Linked DNA regions of Homo sapiens: region 2 is linked to region 1. Evidence: promoter capture Hi-C in 16 types of primary human blood cells and fetal thymus (Javierre and others, 2016). All regions are on one chromosome and are shown on one strand. Each heading gives the region's core, a stretch centred on a gene start or on the middle of the fragment in contact. The rest is flanking DNA. Distances are from core to core; before and after follow the strand shown. Region 1 holds the start of NT5C3B (5'-nucleotidase, cytosolic IIIB). Region 2 has its middle 7.9 kb from the start of HAP1.

What was found. Contacts are between HindIII fragments. The CHiCAGO score rates a contact against its expected background, and 5 or more counts as called.
Region 2: a contact is called between a fragment that was not itself captured here and the fragment with the promoter of NT5C3B in region 1, in 1 of 17 cell types (M1 macrophages). The highest score is 5.0, in M1 macrophages.

Annotation. Positions count from the first base shown.
Region 1 is chr17:41,834,982-41,838,429 of GRCh38, forward strand. NT5C3B (5'-nucleotidase, cytosolic IIIB) reads right to left here and starts at 1,251. Exons shown (of 9, transcript NM_052935.5): 1 at 1,201-1,251; 2 at 878-976; 3 at 222-291; 4 at 89-135. The coding sequence starts at 1,212. It overlaps KLHL10 (kelch like family member 10), which reads left to right and starts at 2,844. Exons shown (of 5, transcript NM_152467.5): 1 at 2,844-3,145. The coding sequence starts at 2,952. RefSeq lists silencers at 735-844, 975-1,354 and an enhancer at 1,775-1,854. The HindIII fragment of the contact is 15,142 bases long and covers 1-3,448 here.
Region 2 is chr17:41,740,841-41,744,261 of GRCh38, forward strand. No RefSeq gene overlaps it. Among named protein-coding and RNA genes, the nearest start is that of HAP1, 7.9 kb to the left of the region's middle. The HindIII fragment of the contact is 1,627 bases long and covers 1,151-2,777 here.

The sequences.
Region 1 (3,448 bases), core at 1-2,500:
CTCTATACTGGAATCTTTGGTTCCAATCAGGAACCATTTGAAGTAGCAAATGACAACCATTTCTGAGCAAAGGACGGGAGCAACCCACCTCTTTCCGACACTCCTCACTGATGATCTTGCTATTATCCAGAATATCTGGAAAAAGAGAAAACTCCTTTTACTTGTCCCTTAGAACCCATCGTCTTGTCAAGCTCAACAAGGGAAGCTAGAATGTGACTTACTGTAAGAAGAAGGGCATCGCTTTCCATTATATGCAAACCTGCTCAAGGTCATGTCAAAATCAGAAATCACCTATAAGGCAAAAGAGAGATGATGCCTAAATAGGCACCAGAATTCTAGTGTGGCCCTGCCTCAGCCTGGGGGATGATTATGGAAATCAATACAGCTCAGTGGCCAGGATGTAGGCAAAGCCCTAGGGGAGTTACCGAGTGACACAGAGGGATAGAGGGGAAGTGATCCTAATTAGTACCCGTTAACCCTGAGGAAAACGCAGTCTCCTAGTGTGGGGGCAAGGGTGAATACTCAGGACCCCTCTGACTCCTTCAATATCAGGTCCCTCCTAAGAGATCTCTACCATTACGGCCCATCTGGACATCTTCAACTTACTGGGGAGCCGCTGGCTTGGGGAGGATAAGGCCCTAGGTACTGGTGTGGGCGCCTTCTGTCCAATTAGAGGAAGCAGCATGACCATATTGAGAAATCTGAAATTTGGGTTTTAGGACAGGCGAACCAACCCGCTCTCCTTCAAGCTCCCGGCCATTTCTTGGGGCAGAGAGCTAGGAGGGGTCCGCGGCAGAGCAAAGCGGGAAGGCCCAATGGGCAGGAAGCCTCTCCAGCCGCCCCCAGCCCGGCCGGCCCCCGCACGCCCCAGAGGTACCTGTAACCGGTCTCCGCCGCCCTTGCGGAGGGCGCCCACGATCTCCTGCACCCGCCCAGGCTGCCGCATCAGGACCGTGGCCTTCATCAGGGTGCTCACCTGTCCCGAGACCCGAGAGAACCACTGACCCCTGCGCCACGCTGGGCCCGAGGGGAGCCCGGGGCTCGCTCGGGCGCGCGTGTGAGGCGGGGCCGGGGTGCGCGAGGGGGCGGCTACTGGCCTGGGTGAAGCGGCGGTGCCTCGGTGACCAGCTGGGGGGCTCGAAGCGCCCCGGGGGTCGGAGTCCGGGCCCGCCCCACTCCGGACGCTTCCTCCCTCCTCACCTCCTCTGCCATCCCGTTCGAGGCCTGGTCGGCGGCTCGCGGGACAACGACAGCCCCGCGACCGCACTGCGCAGGCGTCGCCTCCCGCCTGGAGCCCGGGCGGGGGTTGGTGGGGCCGGGGGCGGGGCGGGGGTGGGGCCGAGAATCGAGCGGTCCCGGAGATGGCCGCGATCCGGGTGGGCTTGCCGGTTGCGCTAGGCAAACTGGAGGAGGGTTCTATTTATTATGAAGAGCAGGGTGAAGGTCCCAAGGTGTTGGGGTTACGTGGGTAGGTAGGGTTCTGCCACTCTTTGTGGAGGAAAAGCCTTGCCAAACGTGGTCATTTCCAGGCTGAAAGTTTGTGACAAAAACATGACTGGGGCTGGGCGCGGTGGCCCATACCTGTAATCCCAGGACTTTGGGAGGCCGAGGCAGGATGATCGCTTGAGCCGAAGAGTTCGAGACCAGCCTGGGCAATATGACGAAACCCTGTCTCTACAAAAAATACAAAAATTAGCCGGGCATGGTGACACGCACCTGTTGTAGTCCCAGCTACTCGGGAGGCTGAGGCACGAGGATCACTTGAGCCCGGGAGATCCAGGCTCCAGTAGGCCGAGATCATACCACTGCACTCCACCCTGGGTGACAGATGACACCCTGTCTCAGAAACAAAAACAGAAAAACCACACGGCTGGATGGGAGGAGAGATGAAGGAGCCATAAACTGAATTCTGTTAATCACCCAGAAAGGGCTCTGTTAACTAGGCCATTCCTCATTCCAGAAGAAACTGAGTGACTAACCCATCCAGCGGGCTGGGAGACCCGGGACAGCTTTCTGAAATGTAATCAGCGTTGGCTGGGCACGGTGCGGAGCACTTGTAATCCCAGCTATTCAGGAGGCTGAGGTGGGAGGATCACTTAAGCCCAGGAGGTCGAGGCTGTAGTGAGTTATGATCACACCACTGCACTCCAGCCTGGGTGAGAGAGCGAGACCCGTCCCTAGAAAAAGAAAGATTTTTTTTTTGAGATGGAGTCTCACTCTGTCGCCAGGCTGGAGTGCAGTGGAGCGATCTCGGCTCACTACAACCTCCATCTCCTGGGTTGAAGCGATTCTCCTGCCTCAGCCTCCCAAGTAGCTGGGACTACAGGCATGTGCCACCACGCCCAGCTAATTTTTGTATTTTTAGTAGAGACGAGGTTTCACCATGTTGGCCAGGATGGCCTTGATCTCTTGACCTTGTGATCCATCCACCTCGTGCTGGGATTACAGGTGTGAGCCACTGCGCCCGGCCTAAGAAAGAAATTTAATCAGTTTTACTTCTCCCTTCAGCCTCAATTGACTTGGATTTCCTTGAGTTCGGTGTCTAGGGAGCCAAGTGTTGGGCTGTGGAAGGTAGATGAATGCTCCAGGGATAGAGACCTGTATCAGGTGAGTAACAGGAGCTGGAATCAATAAACACTCAGATGGTGCTAGTGGTCATGGTTCTGTTTTGGGTTCAAGGACACAGAAGGAGGTGTGAGGTGGTTTTCAGCCTAAGTGGGGTGGTAAGGAGGGGAGAAGGAAGAGGACAAGTCCAGGAGGCAGTTCCAGAACCTGAGAGCACAATCCTGTGTGATCTCACTGCAGGGCCAGGATTCTGGAACTTGGGTTGCCTGATAGACCCTATACAAAAGATGTAGTAGGGAAAAGGAGCGACAGCTGGCTAAAGGGGCCCCCCACAACCCTCCCCGACACCCTAGGAAAGCAGCCTCTCTCCGCTGTCCCAGGGTGCCATGGAGATGGAGAGCGCGGCGGCCTCCACACGTTTCCACCAGCCTCACATGGAGAGGAAGATGAGTGCGATGGCCTGTGAGATCTTCAACGAGCTTAGACTAGAGGGCAAGCTCTGCGACGTGGTCATCAAGGTCAATGGCTTTGAGTTCAGTGCCCATAAGAACATCCTCTGTAGCTGCAGTTCCTACTTTAGGTATAACAGGGTTGCCAAATTCAGCCAAAGGGGTAATTGGGCTCATTTTGAGACACTTTGATCCATTTTCTGTTTCCCACCCCATCACCTTAACTTTAGGGACACTGTCAAAGCTCTGGGCTCCTTAAAAATTAAAAAAAAATTTTTTTTTTAGAGATAAGCTCTCATTCTTTCACCCAGGCTGGAGTGTAGTGATGCAATCATAGCTCACTGCAGCCTTCAACTGCTGGGCTCAAACAATCCACCTACTCCAGCCTCCCAAGTAGCTAGGTCTACAGGCACATGCTGCTACGTCCGGCTACT
Region 2 (3,421 bases), core at 714-3,213, 93 kb before region 1:
CTCCCTCTCCCGTACCCAGGGGTGCCTGTGCTCACTGGGTTTGCTTCCACATAATACTACTTATGAGCCAACTGTTAGGTCTTATAAATTAGATGCCCACCGTGGGCATCTGCCCCATGGCCTCTGGAGGAATCCTGCCAGAGGATGGAGATAAAGGAAGGACAAATACCAAGTGCCTTTTGCAGACGCTATGTCCGCTCTTCCTTCTTCAAGCCTCAGCTCAGACGCCACCCAGTCTTGGGAGCCTCCCCTGATCTAACCTGGCTGGATCTGGGTCCCTGCCTCCCAGATCCAATGTGCTTCCCTCTACCTCAGCCTTCCACACACTGGGGCAAAAGCAAGAAGGGCTTCTGTGCCCAGCTTTTAGTATCTGAGCCTGCCTTGGCCCATGCTTGATGGGCTCAGAGGGAAACACTTGTACTCTGACATAAATCCGAAATAACAGAATCATCCTGACTGGTTCCAGTCTTCAAAATAAGAAAGACTGAGTTTTCACCATAAACCTGGACTCCTGGCCGGGCGCGGTGGCTCACACCTGTAATCCAGCACTTTGGGAGGCCAAGGCAGGCAGATTGCTTGAGCCCAGGCGTTTGAGACCGGCCTAGGCAACATGGTGAAACCCTGTCTCTACAAAAATACATAAATTAGATGGACATGATTGTGCACGCCTGTAGTCCCAGCTACTTGCGGGGGCTGAGGCAGGAGGATTGCTTGAGCCCAGGAGGTCAAGGCTGCAGTTAGCCGTCTTCCCGCCACTGCACTCCAGCCTGGATGACAGAGCAAGACCTTGTCATAAATAAATAAACAAAGAAACAAACAAATAAATCTGAACTCCCTAACAAAAAATAAGCCTATTCCTAAAGCTAAGTCATGACCTTTGTGATAAGGTAGTGAAATCGTTGTGGTTCCCATGGCAGAACGGATAATGTCAGGCTTTCCTTTACATCCTTGCCGTGTTTTGTATCTGCCCCGCCAGGCCTTCTGAAAAGGAACCCCCTTTACTCCTCATAAGTAAACGTTCCTCTCCTCTATGTGTCTGTCTCTTTCTTTGACCTGGGCTATAAACACTGATTTCTCACCTGTGGGCCCCACTCAAGGCAGGGGTTGGCAGTCTTCATCTGTGCATTCCAGAGCCTGGTGCAGGCTAGCAAGCTTGAGCGCTCGATAAATACTTACCGGATAACTTAGCAAACTAGGAGAGCAGGCAACACCCTGACCCCAGGCGCTTCCTCAAGGCCCAGCTCTCCCCAAACCCTCCTCCAGGAAGCCCAGAGCATCCTTCACCTTCTCCAACCACATCACGCCCATTGGGCTACAGGAGGGCCTTGGGCTGCCTCGCAGGTGGTCATTGACACTCTCCCGTGTGTAGAGGTCTCAGCTTGACCAAAAGCTACAGCATCAAGAACACAGACAGCTCCTCACATGCTTGTGGTCACCCCACCTGGGCACCTCATACCTAGCAGGGGCTCCAGCAACGTGCGCTGATTCCTTAGTCTGGAGGGCAGGCTGTCATGGTGTAGGTGGGGCAAAGTGGCACCAGGGATGCCCTCAGGGCCTGGCTGGGCCCTTCACTGCTACAAGTGGTCTCCAAAGTGGAAGATGTTCACTGCTGTCCTGACCTCTCAACCTCTCAGCTCTCACTCAACAGTAGACATCACAGAGAGTCTTTGCAGAGGTTTTTTTCTTCTTTTTTTTTTAGATGGAGCCTCACTCTATCGCCCAGGCTGGGGTGCAATGGCATGATCTCTGCTCACTGCAACCTCCGCCTCCCGGGTGCAAGTGATTCTCCTGCCTCAGCCTCCCGAGTAGCTGGGATTACGGGCACACACCACCACGCCCAGCTAATTTTTTGTATTTTTAGTAGAGACGGGGTTTCTTTCTTTCTTTTTTTTTTTTTCTTTTGAGACAGAGTCTTGCTCTGTCACCCAGGCTGGAGTGCAGTGGCGTGATCTTGGCTCACTGCAAGCTCTGCCTCCCAGGTTCATGCCATTCTCTTGCCTCAGTCTCCTGAGTAGCTGGGACTACAGGCGCCCGCCACCACACCTGGCTAATTTTTTTGTATGTTTTAGTAGAGACGGGATTTCACCATGTTAGCCAGGATGGTCTCAATCTCCTGACCTGGTGATCCACGCGCCTTGGCCTCCCAAAGTGCTGGGATTACAGGCGTGAGCCACCATGCCCGGCGTAGAGACGGGGTTTCATCATGTTGACCAGGCTGGTCTCGAACTCCTGACCTCAAGTGATCCGCCCACCTCGGCCTCCCAAAGCGCTGGGATTACAGGCGTAAGCCACCTTGCCGGCCCCTTGGCAGAAATTTTTTTTTCTTTTTTTTTCTTTTTTTGAGACGGAGTTTCGCTTTTGTTGCCCAAACGGGAGTGCGATGGCACGATCTCAGCTCACTGCAACCTCTGTCTCCTGGGTTCAAGCGCTTCTCCTGCCTCAGCCTCCTGAGTAGCTGGGATTACAGGTGCGCGCCATCACGACCAGCTAATTTTTTGTATTTTTAGTAGAAATGGATTTCACCATGTTAACCAGGCTGGTCTCAAACTCCTGACCTCAAGTGATCTGCCCGCCTCGGCCTCCCAAAGTGCTGGGATTACAGTAGGCATGAGCCACCGCGCCTGGCCAGAGATTTTTATAAGACCTCCCTGGCTTTCAGTTTCCCTCATCTGTAAAATGGGGATAACGAATCATAAGTCCTGCTTAGTAAAGACTTCCTATTAAGTGGGATAAGGAAAGTAAGGCACTTAGCAGCCACATAGTACGTGCTTAGCAAAAGCTTCCCCTTTGACTCCCCAGCTGGCTCTTGGAGGGGAAAGGAATCCTCACCCCCTTCTCTCCACAGTGGAGGGCAGAGTGGGCAAAGCCAGGCAGAGGTAGGGCAGGGCCAAGCAGGCAGAGCCTAGAGGTCCCTTCCATTCCAGGGCATCAGAGTGCCATGGCAGACCTAGGAACAGACAGGCAGGAGGAGCCAGGACAGGTTGTGATGGGGATCAGGCATTCTCCACTACCCTCCAATCCTCAGCTCCCTGAGGACCACCTGGAGTTGGGCCTAACAGGAAGCCCAGGGACACACCTGGGCTCAAAGTCCACCTGCCCCCTGCCCTGTAGCTTTAAATCCAGCAGGCAGCTCTGTCCTGCTGCAGTCGGTTTCTCCACATGTGAAATGGGGATAAGACCGCCTATATCACAGGGTTCATTCGAGAACAAATGAGACCACACACACCAAGTTGCACTCCAAGAGCTCCCTCAACAGTGGTGGCTGTTGGCCAGGTGCAGTGGCTCACACCTGGAATCCCAGCACTTTGGGAGGCTGAGGCAGGAGGATCGCTTGAAGCCAGGAGTTCAAGACCAGCCTGGGCAACATAATGAGATCCTGTCTCTATTAAAAAAAACTTTTTTTTTTTTTGAATCAGAGTCT